Linked DNA regions of Homo sapiens: all the other regions are linked to region 2. The links are contacts of gene promoters, found by promoter capture Hi-C in human tissues and cell types (Jung and others, 2019). All regions are on one chromosome and are shown on one strand. Each heading gives the region's core, a stretch centred on a gene start or on the middle of the fragment in contact. The rest is flanking DNA. Distances are from core to core; before and after follow the strand shown. Region 1 overlaps GPATCH8 (G-patch domain containing 8). Region 2 holds the start of GFAP (glial fibrillary acidic protein). Region 3 holds the start of MAP3K14 (mitogen-activated protein kinase kinase kinase 14).

Region 1 (4,671 bases), core at 713-3,212, 470 kb after region 2:
AAGTGAAGGTTGCAGTGAGCCGAGATCGCGCTGTTGCACTCCAGCCTAGGCAACAAGAGTGAAACTCCATCTTAGGGGGGGAAAAAAAAAAAAGAAAAAGAAATACTCACATAGATTGGAGCTCACTGGTAATTTTTGGTCTACCTACATGTATATAGGAGTGTACTGGGTACTTGAAGGAAGCCATTAATTTTTACTGTGACCTGTTTTTTAAAAAGAGGAAAAATGTTTTCAGAATTTCTAACAGACCACTTACCCTAAACCTAATTTCCTGGAAAACACCATTATTATGGGGGCTGACTTGAGGTTTTCCTTCACTGAAACTGGTTATGGCAACTTTCCAATTCAGTTTTTTAAAAGTTTGTCGATATATGTTGAATGTAAGTTCTTTAGTATTTTTTTCTTAAACATTTGATGCTTCCTTCTCCTTGACTACTGAGTGATAACAAGAAATGAAATTGAACAAGCCTTAAGGCTCTAATGACCAGTAATGTAAAACTCAAATATTTCATTATAAAAGTTTACATATTTTTTGATATATGGAGACCTTTCTAATATAGTGATATGTTCTACTTGATAAAATAATTCCTTGATTATGAGAGTTAAATCATTAGTATCTTGTGATGTTAAGCGGCGCGCATCATGATGACTAAGTATTTACAGTTGAACAAGTTTCAGACCCGCTACGAACATGTTCATTCTCTGAGTCAACAAATGCTTTTTAACTAAATGCCATTCTGGCCTACATACTGTGTCAGATATGGATATAAACATAAGTAAAACTCAGGGCACAAAAGTGCTACCACTTTTTTTCCCCCCGTGAGATGGAGATTCTCTCTTGTTGCCCCAGACTGGAGTGCAATGGTGTGATCTCGGCTCACTGCAACTTCTGCCTCCCAGTTTCAAGTGATTCTCCTGCCTCAGCCTCCCAAGTAGCTGGGATTACAGGAACATGCCACCACGCCCAGCTAATTTTTGTATTTTAAATGCAGACGAGGTTTTGCCATGTTGGCCAGGCTGATCTCGACCTCCTGACCTCAAGTAGTCTGCCTGCCTTGGCCTCCCACAGTGCTGGGATTACAGCCGTGAGCCACCATGCCTGGCCTTTTTTTTTTCTTTAAACTAAAGACTTAACTGTTTTTTTCCGTATCTCCTCAGCCCCATGTTTTAGACTATTTTACCCCAAAATTGTATTTATTAATTTGGCTTTCCCATTTGAAAAAACAAATTGATCTTAGCATGGTGGTTAGCTTGAGGCAATCTTTAGTGAGTCAGTATAATTTTAGCTAAAACAGTTGTATCTCATGTAAAAGTATGATTTTCTTTAGGTTTTTTTTTTTTAATTGAAAGTAACTCATGAATTCTCTTTATTATCTCTTCTAAGGGCTTGAGGATATCATGTTATCCCTGGATGAGATATCCTTCCCAGGCCTAACATTCTGATTTAACAACACTTTCACTAAAGCCTTTTGCCCCACCTTTGTTCCTGTTTATTAATATATTTAGTTATATGATTAAAATTGAACTATTTTATCCTAGATGGAAAGTATCAGATGGAAATTCGTTTAGGTCATAATTAAACTTGTGTGCCTTAGAAAACATCTGTATTTGAAAATCAAATTGGCCAGGCACCATGGCTCATGTCTGTAATCCCAGCACCTTGTGGGGCCAAAGTGGGCAAATTGCTTGAGCTCAGAAGTTCAAGAACAAACTGGGCGGGCAACATGGTGAAATCCCGTCTCTACAAAAAATAACAAGAATTAGCCACATGTGGTGGTGTGCACCTGTAGTCCCAGCTTCTTAGGAAGCTGAGATGGGAGGATTACTTGAGCCCAGGAGGTTGAGGCTGCAGTGAGCCGTGGTTATGCCACTGCACTCCAGCCTGGGCGATGGTGAGACCCTGTTTTAAAAAATAAATAAAGGAAGAAAAAAATCAAATTAATTTGGTTGTTGTATAGGTCACTAAAAAGGCCATGGCAAGAATATAGTAGGTTTTTGTAGTACTGGATAATTTGAACTCTATTTTGGGTAGAAAGTTTTTCCTTTTTTTTTAAACCTTAAAAACTCTCTAGGGATTAAGTAATGTGCTCAATGTTTTCAGTTAATGTTTTCTGAGAGGTAGCATATATCATATGTTAGAGTTGCTTAGAAAAATATCTAAACGATGCTGAAAGTAATAATTGTTTCTATGCCACCTAAAGACTCATTTTCAGGAGAAATTTGCAAAAATTAAGCTTTGGTTTGGAAATAAATGTACCATTTTTTATTCAGTGTTTCTGAAAGTTTCATGTGATCACAGTTTCAATAAATGAAATGATATTTAAGTCCATTAACATGACTTGAATCCTATTTTGAATACTTTTGCAAATCAGAGAATCACCTGCGTAATTTTTTTTATCTTGATTTTCACATATGTATTTGCATTACTTAAAAAGAAGAAATAAGTACTTTAAAGATGTCAGTGTAGGTTCTTGGCCTTTATCAGTTTAATGGTCTTTTTTCCCCTCTTTTCTCTTTTTCGACAAGGTTTTTCTCTGTCACCCAGGCTGGAGTGCAGTGGTGCGATGATAGCTCACTCCAGCTCCTGGGCTCAAGTGGTCCTTCTGCCTCAATATTTTCAGTGGCTAGGACTGCAGGTGCATGCCACCATGCCCAGCTAATTTTTTTAAGAAAAATTTTTTGGAGAGACAGAGTCTTGCTCTATTGCCCAGTATGGTCTCAAACTCCTGTCCTCAAGGCATCTTCCTGCCTTGGCCTCCCCAAGTGCTGGGATTACAGGCGTGAGCCACCAAGCCCAGCCCAGTTTTAATTGTCTTTTGAAAGTGGATTTTAGGCCGGGCTCATTGGCTTACACCTGTAATCCCAGCACTTTGGAGGCTGAGGTGAGCAGATCACTCAAGCCCAGGAGTTTGAGACCAGCCTGAGCAATATGGTGAAACCCCATCTCTACTAAAAATACAAAAATTAGCCAGATGTAGTGGCAGGCACTTGTAGTGTCAGCTACTCAGGAGGCCTAGAGGCAAGAATTGCTTGAGCCTGGAAGCTGGAATTTACAGTGAGCGGAGATGGCACCACAGCACTCCAGCCTGGGTGACTTAGCAAGATCCTGTCTCAAAAAAAACATGGATTTTGTGACTTTTTGATGGCTTTTATATTTACTTGCACTTCATTAAGGTCGTCTTTAAAGACAACTTTAGATATCTTTAAAAGACAACTTCAGACATTTTTAAGCTTTTTTAACTGCTTATGCATTAGCTTCACAAATGTTCTGTTTTCTCTCATTCTCAGCTGAAGTTCCAGCTGGTCAGATTACTCTATTTTGCCTATTTATTGGTAATTCATGGAACGTGGTGCTGCGGTTGTGGTGTTTTTTTTTTTTTTTACATCATCACTATATGCAGTGCCCAGAACAGTGCCTTGAATATAGTAGAAACTCTCTTTCTCTCTCTCCTTCTCTCTCTCTCTCTCTCTCTATATATATATATATGTATATATATACGTATACATATACACACATATATATGTGTATATATATATTATTTTATTTTATTTTATTTTTGTCTCTTTGAGACAGAGTTTCACTCTTGTTGCCCAGTCTGGAGTGCGATGGTACGATGTCAGCTCACTGCAACCTCCGCCTCCCGGGTTTAAGCGATTCTCCTGCCTCAGCCTCCCAAGTAGCTAGGATTACAGGCATGCACCACCATGCCCAGCTAATTTTGTATTTTTAGTAGATACAGGGTTTCACCATGTTGGTCAGGCTGGTCTTGAACTCCTGACCTCAGGTGATCCACCCGCCTCGGCCTCCCAAATTGCTGGGATTACAGGCCTGAGCCACCGTGCCCGGGCTTTTGATTTTTTTGGGGGGCGGGGGGAAGGAGTGTCGTTGTGTTGCCCAGGCTGGAGTGCAGTGGTGCAATCTTAGCTAACTGCAACCTCTGCCTCCCGGGTTAAAGTGATTCTCCTGCCCCAGCCTCCTGAGTAGCTGGGATTACAGGTGCCCGCCACCACGCCCAGCTAATTTTTGTGTTTTTAGTAGAGATGGGGTTTCACCATGTTGGCCAGGCTGGTCTCGAACTCCTGACCTCAAGTGATCTGCCCGCCTCAGCCTCCCACAGTGCTGGGATTACAGGCATGAGCCACCATGCCTAGCCAAAACTCAATATTTGTTGTAAATGTTTGTATTGAATCTCTGTAAGGGGAAAGCAGCAGAGATGCATTGTGGTGTTCTTACATCTTACATTGTGGTATTCTTACATCTGTTGACAATTCAACCAGTGTTTTAATCACTGTAGAAGCTTCTTCCTTTCTAATTTGTTTCTGCAGGGAAATCATATGTCTTCTGTTTCTAAAGTATGGCTGATTACTAGATTATGGTTGTCCTTTAATATATTCTTCCCAGTTGTTCTATTCCTAGAGTTTGTCTCTTTAAAAATAGTGTTTCCCTGGGCTGGGTGCAGTGGCTCACGCCTGTAATCCCAGCACTTTGGGAGGCCAAGGTGGCAGATCATGAGGTCAAGAGATCGAGACCATCCTGGCCAATATGGTGAAACCCTGTCTCTACTAAAAATACAAAATAATTAGCTGGGTGTAGTGGTGCACCTGTAGTCCCGGCTACTCAGGAGGCTGAGGCAGGACAATTGCTTAAACTTGGGAGGCGGAGGTTGCAGT
Region 2 (4,110 bases), core at 1,611-4,110:
ACAAGCTTGTGTCTCACATACACAGGGACAGTTCACTGAGCTTCAATGACAGGCACCTCCTGCTCATCACATCTTTTCTCTCTAGGACAGCTTTGCCCTTATTTTAACTAGACTTCCCTTGAACCAAAAGGGAAGGCTACATGCTGTGACTTGCTGGGCAGCCTGGAAAGGCGGGCCACTCCTAGCCACAGAGATGAGACAGAGTTCAGACAAGAGCTTATCCCCAGTCTTCCTTTTCTATTTTGTTTATTTTATTTTATTTTTTTATTTATTGAGACAGAGTCTCTGTCACCCAGGCTGGGGTGCAGTGATGCGACATTGGCTTACTGCAGTCTCCACCTCCTGGGCTCAGGTGATCCTCCCACCTCAGCCTCCCGAATAGCTGGGATCACAGTAGTGCACCACCATACCTGGCTAATTTTTTTGTATTTTTTGTACAGACAAAATTTCACCACATTGCCCAGGCTGGTCTCGAACTCCTGGACTCAAGCGATCCGCCCACCTCAGCCTCCCAAAGTGCTCGGATTACAGGCATGAGCCACTATGCCCAGCCTTGCTCTTCCTTTAAAGCCTCCTGTCCTTCCCCAGGTCCCCAGTTCATAGCAGGATCAAAGGTCACTGGGCGCTCACCCCGTCTTCAAGATGCTCTTTCCTATGTCACTGCTTACGCCCAGGTCAGATGTGACTAGAGCCTAAGGAGCTCCCACCTCCCTCTCTGTGCTGGGACTCACAGAGGGAGACCTCAGGAGGCAGTCTGTCCATCACATGTCCAAATGCAGAGCATACCCTGGGCTGGGCGCAGTGGCGCACAACTGTAATTCCAGCACTTTGGGAGGCTGATGTGGAAGGATCACTTGAGCCCAGAAGTTCTAGACCAGCCTGGGCAACATGGCAAGACCCTATCTCTACAAAAAAAGTTAAAAAATCAGCCACGTGTGGTGACACACACCTGTAGTCCCAGCTATTCAGGAGGCTGAGGTGAGGGGATCACTTAAGGCTGGGAGGTTGAGGCTGCAGTGAGTCGTGGTTGCGCCACTGCACTCCAGCCTGGGCAACAGTGAGACCCTGTCTCAAAAGACAAAAAAAAAAAAAAAAAAAAAAAGAACATATCCTGGTGTGGAGTAGGGGACGCTGCTCTGACAGAGGCTCGGGGGCCTGAGCTGGCTCTGTGAGCTGGGGAGGAGGCAGACAGCCAGGCCTTGTCTGCAAGCAGACCTGGCAGCATTGGGCTGGCCGCCCCCCAGGGCCTCCTCTTCATGCCCAGTGAATGACTCACCTTGGCACAGACACAATGTTCGGGGTGGGCACAGTGCCTGCTTCCCGCCGCACCCCAGCCCCCCTCAAATGCCTTCCGAGAAGCCCATTGAGCAGGGGGCTTGCATTGCACCCCAGCCTGACAGCCTGGCATCTTGGGATAAAAGCAGCACAGCCCCCTAGGGGCTGCCCTTGCTGTGTGGCGCCACCGGCGGTGGAGAACAAGGCTCTATTCAGCCTGTGCCCAGGAAAGGGGATCAGGGGATGCCCAGGCATGGACAGTGGGTGGCAGGGGGGGAGAGGAGGGCTGTCTGCTTCCCAGAAGTCCAAGGACACAAATGGGTGAGGGGACTGGGCAGGGTTCTGACCCTGTGGGACCAGAGTGGAGGGCGTAGATGGACCTGAAGTCTCCAGGGACAACAGGGCCCAGGTCTCAGGCTCCTAGTTGGGCCCAGTGGCTCCAGCGTTTCCAAACCCATCCATCCCCAGAGGTTCTTCCCATCTCTCCAGGCTGATGTGTGGGAACTCGAGGAAATAAATCTCCAGTGGGAGACGGAGGGGTGGCCAGGGAAACGGGGCGCTGCAGGAATAAAGACGAGCCAGCACAGCCAGCTCATGTGTAACGGCTTTGTGGAGCTGTCAAGGCCTGGTCTCTGGGAGAGAGGCACAGGGAGGCCAGACAAGGAAGGGGTGACCTGGAGGGACAGATCCAGGGGCTAAAGTCCTGATAAGGCAAGAGAGTGCCGGCCCCCTCTTGCCCTATCAGGACCTCCACTGCCACATAGAGGCCATGATTGACCCTTAGACAAAGGGCTGGTGTCCAATCCCAGCCCCCAGCCCCAGAACTCCAGGGAATGAATGGGCAGAGAGCAGGAATGTGGGACATCTGTGTTCAAGGGAAGGACTCCAGGAGTCTGCTGGGAATGAGGCCTAGTAGGAAATGAGGTGGCCCTTGAGGGTACAGAACAGGTTCATTCTTCGCCAAATTCCCAGCACCTTGCAGGCACTTACAGCTGAGTGAGATAATGCCTGGGTTATGAAATCAAAAAGTTGGAAAGCAGGTCAGAGGTCATCTGGTACAGCCCTTCCTTCCCTTTTTTTTTTTTTTTTTTGTGAGACAAGGTCTCTCTCTGTTGCCCAGGCTGGAGTGGCGCAAACACAGCTCACTGCAGCCTCAACCTACTGGGCTCAAGCAATCCTCCAGCCTCAGCCTCCCAAAGTGCTGGGATTACAAGCATGAGCCACCCCACTCAGCCCTTTCCTTCCTTTTTAATTGATGCATAATAATTGTAAGTATTCATCATGGTCCAACCAACCCTTTCTTGACCCACCTTCCTAGAGAGAGGGTCCTCTTGCTTCAGCGGTCAGGGCCCCAGACCCATGGTCTGGCTCCAGGTACCACCTGCCTCATGCAGGAGTTGGCGTGCCCAGGAAGCTCTGCCTCTGGGCACAGTGACCTCAGTGGGGTGAGGGGAGCTCTCCCCATAGCTGGGCTGCGGCCCAACCCCACCCCCTCAGGCTATGCCAGGGGGTGTTGCCAGGGGCACCCGGGCATCGCCAGTCTAGCCCACTCCTTCATAAAGCCCTCGCATCCCAGGAGCGAGCAGAGCCAGAGCAGGATGGAGAGGAGACGCATCACCTCCGCTGCTCGCCGCTCCTACGTCTCCTCAGGGGAGATGATGGTGGGGGGCCTGGCTCCTGGCCGCCGTCTGGGTCCTGGCACCCGCCTCTCCCTGGCTCGAATGCCCCCTCCACTCCCGACCCGGGTGGATTTCTCCCTGGCTGGGGCACTCAATGCTGGCTTCAAGGAGACCCGGGCCAGTGAGCGGGCAGAGATGATGGAGCTCAATGACCGCTTTGCCAGCTACATCGAGAAGGTTCGCTTCCTGGAACAGCAAAACAAGGCGCTGGCTGCTGAGCTGAACCAGCTGCGGGCCAAGGAGCCCACCAAGCTGGCAGACGTCTACCAGGCTGAGCTGCGAGAGCTGCGGCTGCGGCTCGATCAACTCACCGCCAACAGCGCCCGGCTGGAGGTTGAGAGGGACAATCTGGCACAGGACCTGGCCACTGTGAGGCAGAAGTGAGGAGGGGATGGGGAAGGGGGGCCTTGTGAGCAGAAGGGGCTGAATCCCCAAGAAGGAGTGCCCGAGAAGTCTCAGGGAGGGGCCGAACCTCCCTGCTCCCTGGGCCTCCCTACCTCTTGATGGGGCACTATCCTTGCCCCCCAACATGATGGGAGGGACCAGAAACAGGCCCAGGGCCCCGGGGATCTGATGCCCGCATGCCTTCTGCCAGGAGTCCAGGGTCCCCTCAGCACCTCCCTACTGGGGAAAGCAGTGCAGGAGCAGCGGGGCCCCTGTGTTTCATTCATGGCTGGGCTTTGTGACTGTGGGCAGCGAGCTCACCTATTCTGAGCCTGTGTCCATATAAAGGAGGAGTTGGAAGCGGAGAAGGTTGATGTCCATGAGGGAGATTGGATTCTGGGGTGAAGAAAGTGAGGGAAAGAGCAGGCAGGTCTGGGCGCAAAGCACAGGTGACTGCCTGCCACCAGCTTGTGACCCCCATCAAGTTACTTTGACTTGCACAGCTGTGAAGCGGTGGTCATAATAAAATTCATTTCAAAAGGTGGTTACCTGGGATCAGAGGAATCCCCAGGGGCATGGCGCTTCACTGAGCTGACAGGACATGCATGTGTGCCTTCAAGTGCAGGAGGACATGTGCGTGTGTGTGTGTGTGTGTGCAACAGTGAGTGTATGCTTGTGGATGCGCCTGTGTGAGCAGAAGCAGGTGCACCAACCCTGATAAGGCACCTTAGTAATGAGTTAAGGCAAAAGCCCACATCTGCTCATCCTCCAG
Region 3 (4,235 bases), core at 1,301-3,800, 400 kb before region 2:
GTCCAGCTTCTTTCTTGTCTGCCATCTCCCAGCTAGTCAGTGGCAGAGCCAGGGTGGGCGCCAGAGACTGTTTGGCTCTAAAGCACGGACTCTACGGGAGCCACAACCTCAAATGCTCCAGGGGCCAGACAGGTGACATAAGGTTAGATGGTTGGGTGGCGGGAACTGTAAGGAACCGCAGGCTCTGCTCTAAGGCATTCAAATTCAAATTTAAAAAAATATTGGGCCAGCCAAACAAAGCATATTTCTGGCCTGGGTGAGTGAATGAGGCCCTCAGGTTGTGAGTTTTTGACCACTGCCTAAATAAATGGTCTTCCCTATTCCCCAGCAGAGATGACTGTTTGGCACAGATATCCAGAAAGAAGAGTTCAGCTTCGGACTGTCTGCAAAGTAGTCTCAAGCAGATGGTGGTCTTTGCTCAAACACTTCCAGAGATGGGGTGTTCCTTACTTTTCAAGACAGCCTTGGGTGGGGCCTGCCTATCCCCGGACTAGAGCCACTCACCACACCTACCATGGACCCTTCATGGAAGTGGGATGCCCAGGGTAGGAGTACATCTTTTATTTTGCAATAAAAAAAAAAGTTTGGATTTTTTTTTTAAAGGACTGCCTCACTCTGTTACCCAGGCTGGAGTGCAGTGGCACGATCATGGCTCACTGTAACCTCAGACTCTCAGCCTCCCCTCTAGCTGGGACTGCAAGTGCAAACTACCACGCCTGGCTATTCTTTTATTTTTTTGCAAGGACGAGGTCCTTGCTATATTGCCCAGGATGTTCTCCAACTCCTGGCCTCAAGCGATCCTCCTGCCTTTGCCTCCCAAAAGCGCTGGGATTACAGGAGTGAGCCACCGTGCCTGGCCTGGAATTTATTACAAATAAAATACAAGCTCAGTGTGGAAACACTAGATAATACAGAGGGGCAAAAGTTAGAAAAAGTTTCTATACCTTCCCTACTCCCCACCCCCGACCCCCATTCAGAAAGAAGCACTGTTGACACTTCAATGCATATTCTGAACTCCAGGTCCTTTCTTTGCATACATCAAGCTCTCATCCTCTTGCTGGCTCTGTGGTCTGCAAACCCAGAGAGCAGATGCTTTGCTCAGCGCTCGTACCACGCCACGCACCCACATGCTCTCTTTGTACCTGGGTTTCAACCCACAGGTCGGGCCCCTGTAAGCCCTTGGCTCCCCAAGCTTCTCGAGGGCAGGCACTGTAACCTTCTTTACTCATTCCAGGGATTCTACAGGACCAGGCACACGGTAAGAGCTCAATAAAAACGTCTCTACCCCCACCACCTCCCGCCTCAGCCGCCACCGCTTGGCAGCAGAGAGGAAGCGGAACGCGCGCGACCCACGAGGGAGAGCGCCTCGCTGTCTCCAAGGTAACCGAAGTCAGTGGCAGGGAGTGCCCACGCATGCGCACACTCGCCCTTCCTTCCCGTAACCTCGAGAACGCAGCTGGTAAGACTGCCAGAAGCCGAGGGCGCATGTGTGGTTCCACCAACACCCTAGTCGCCTCCGCCTTCTGTCAGTCCGCCCGCCCAGCGATCTCCCTTCTACAAACATCGTCCGGAAATAGTGCCCATTTCTGGAAACCAGGCCTCGTTAACCAATCGTTGCTAGGGAGCGGGAAGACGGGCTTGCCGGGACGACCGTCTCATTGGTTGGCGTAGGGGAGTGGGCGGGGCCACGGGTCGCGGTGCGGCCAAAGAAAGGAGGCGCGAAGCGAGGCAAAGTTACAGCCTCCGGGGGAGGCGTGGCCCCGGGGGCGGCCGAGAAGGCGAGGGGGCGGAGCCCGGGACCGGGGCGGGGCGACCACGGGCCGGGAGCTCAGCGGTCGGCGGCCGGCGGCGGGAGATCGCGGGCGAGCGGAGCGCAACACTCGCTTGGTTGGGGAGATCGGCGCTTGGCCGGTAGGTGACGGGGCGGGACCCTGGGGCCCGGTGCGAGGCGACCAGGGAGCGGCTGGGATGGATCGCCTCTCAGCCCCGGGCTGGGCTGCGGCCTGGCCCCTCGCCCCGGAGCAGTGGGGTCGGCGGCCAGGCCAGCGCAGTCCGACGTACCCCGTCCAACCCACTCGCAGCGGTCCGCGGGCGCGCCCTCGCACGCGCTGCCGGTGCCGCGCTCGCCCCGGGCCTCCAGGCCGCGCACTCCTGCTGGCCACACGCTGGCTCCGAGCGCGCGCAGGGGCCGCCTGCTTCCCCTTCACTAGTGCCCCGCGCCGCCGCCAGGCCCGCCCGCCTGCTCTGCGCCCCAGTGCCCCCAGGATGGAGCTCGCCTGCCGCGGGGCGGACGTGTCTCCTGCAGGAGTGCGCCCTGGCATCTGCCCTGGCGTGAAACCCTCCCGGCCTTTCATGGGAAGTTCTCAGGTCACACCTCAAGGCGGGGAGCAGGAGCTAAGCCTGTCCTCAGCATGCAGCGGGGCAGTGCTGGCCGCCCGCAGCATCCTCCCTCCGCCCTCGGACCCCAGTCCTCCTCTGTAATTCTTCTGGGCTCTCCAACTCGGGACTTTATCTGTCGGTTCAAATATAACATTCCCATCTTGGAAACCCATCGTGGCCCTGGCATCTTGCAGCCACTGGGCACCAGGCAGAGAGGGGCCACTTGTACGTACGTTTCCCACCTGCCCGGGAGCCTCCTTAGTGCTGGGTAGCTTCAGAAAAAGTGTTTCCTTCCTAGTCGAGGTTAAAAAGTTGCTCTCGGCCCTAAAGGGTGGACTGGAGGTATGAATGAGGGAGAGGATAAGTGGTGAAAAGGTACATACATCAGCAAAGTAAATGGTAAAACTACTTTTGATCGCTGGAGACAATGAACACCAATGACTTAATTAAGGACTTTAAAAGCACATGAAATTAAATGATTAGAGTGAGGTCATGATATAAAATAGGAGTCTGGAGTTTATTCCAAGAAAAATGTTGGAAACCCCTTGACTAGAAACATGGTCTTTCTGAAAGATTAGAAGGAGACAGTATCTTAACATTAGTGATGTGTTTTTTGCTTAGTGTCTTCATACCTGTGAGCTCCGTTTTCCTTCAGATGGCTGTGTGGTAAGACAGATTGTAGTGTCTTGTTTTATGGGCGAGGCACCTGAGGCAGGTGTGTATGAGGGAGTGGGGGTGGTATATATCTTGCCTGATGCCTCATAGCTGGGACTAAGGATGGGTCTTTCCCAGAATCCTAGATCAGGACCACATTATAGAACTGAGATGCAGAAAGGAGGGAGAAGTTTTTGGTGTGGTTTTTATGCTCTTAATGTGAGAGGACACTTAAAAAGTGCTTGCCTTACTTTGGTTGTGTTTGGATTTACTCTTGGTGTTTTTTAAGTGATATCAATCAGTTTCTTTGGAGCGATGCCAGACCTCTGAATTTTTCAGACACCTTTCGGACATCCTTATTTATTTTGAAGGGTGTGGAGAACTTCTCAGAAGATCTCAAAATAAAAGTAATCGTCTCTGACTCTAATTTTAGAGATAAGTACCCAGGTATGTGTACCAGCTCTTTGTGAAATCAGACAGCAAGACGCTGCCAAGCTTCAGGCCATCTTCTGAGTGTTTTCTGATTATAAGAAGCAGTTCTGAAGGGGGTTTTTTGTCATTGGTATTGTCTGTTAAGAGTTTGTGGGAGCGGCACCACAGAGACCCTGCCAAATCAGTCTCCCTCTATTAAACAAAAATGTCTGGTTGGGCTGTTTCGCCTCAACAGATGAAGGTTTGGTTCCTCATTTTGGTTCTCCTGTTGAACACTGACTCCTTTGTGATCTGCCTGGAATATGTGTATATCATTTACTGCTGAGAAGATGGCTTGCGCTGATTGGTTGTCCAGCCCTCGGCAACTGTTGTGATTTTTTTTTTTTTTTTGGTGATTGATAACAGTTCATCCCTGGCTAGGGTCTGGTGAGAGATCTGCGGAGATGTGAAAGAGATGAAAGCTTTATCCAGGGTTGTTTTCTTCGTTGTTGGCACCCTCTGAACAGTGTTGTATCACTTTGGCCTGTGAAGGCACTTTTAACTTCCTATTTTTTTTCCTGTCTCAATGGACAGCACATGGGCTTTCCTAACAAGCCTGCCTGCCTCGATGAAGAGCTGACAGATTCATATTGGTTGGTTTGACAGATGTTCTTTCTGGGGGGAAAGTTCAGAAATCTTAAAAGCAAAGTCAGTCCTAAGTAAAAAGTCTAAGTCAGCCCAATACGCATAAAGGCAGCGTACTTCTACTAATGGCTTCCATCATCTCAAGG

What was found. Contacts are between HindIII fragments. The study calls those that stand out against the background at their distance.
Region 1: a contact is called between a fragment that was not itself captured here and the fragment with the promoter of GFAP in region 2, in 1 of the 25 tissues and cell types used here (dorsolateral prefrontal cortex).
Region 3: a fragment that was not itself captured here is called in contact with the fragment with the promoter of GFAP in region 2 in 1 of the 25 tissues and cell types used here (bladder).

The regions. Positions count from the first base shown.
Region 1 is chr17:44,440,925-44,445,595 of GRCh38, reverse strand. All of the region lies in intron 3 of GPATCH8 (G-patch domain containing 8), which reads left to right. Among named protein-coding and RNA genes, the nearest start is that of ITGA2B, 54 kb to the right of the region's middle. The HindIII fragment of the contact is 3,607 bases long and covers 159-3,765 here.
Region 2 is chr17:44,914,250-44,918,359 of GRCh38, reverse strand. GFAP (glial fibrillary acidic protein) reads left to right here and starts at 2,860. Exons shown (of 9, transcript NM_002055.5): 1 at 2,860-3,334. The coding sequence starts at 2,874. The HindIII fragment of the contact is 9,658 bases long and covers 1-4,110 here.
Region 3 is chr17:45,314,636-45,318,870 of GRCh38, reverse strand. MAP3K14 (mitogen-activated protein kinase kinase kinase 14) reads left to right here and starts at 1,851. Exons shown (of 16, transcript NM_003954.5): 1 at 1,851-1,911. The HindIII fragment of the contact is 4,566 bases long and covers 268-4,235 here.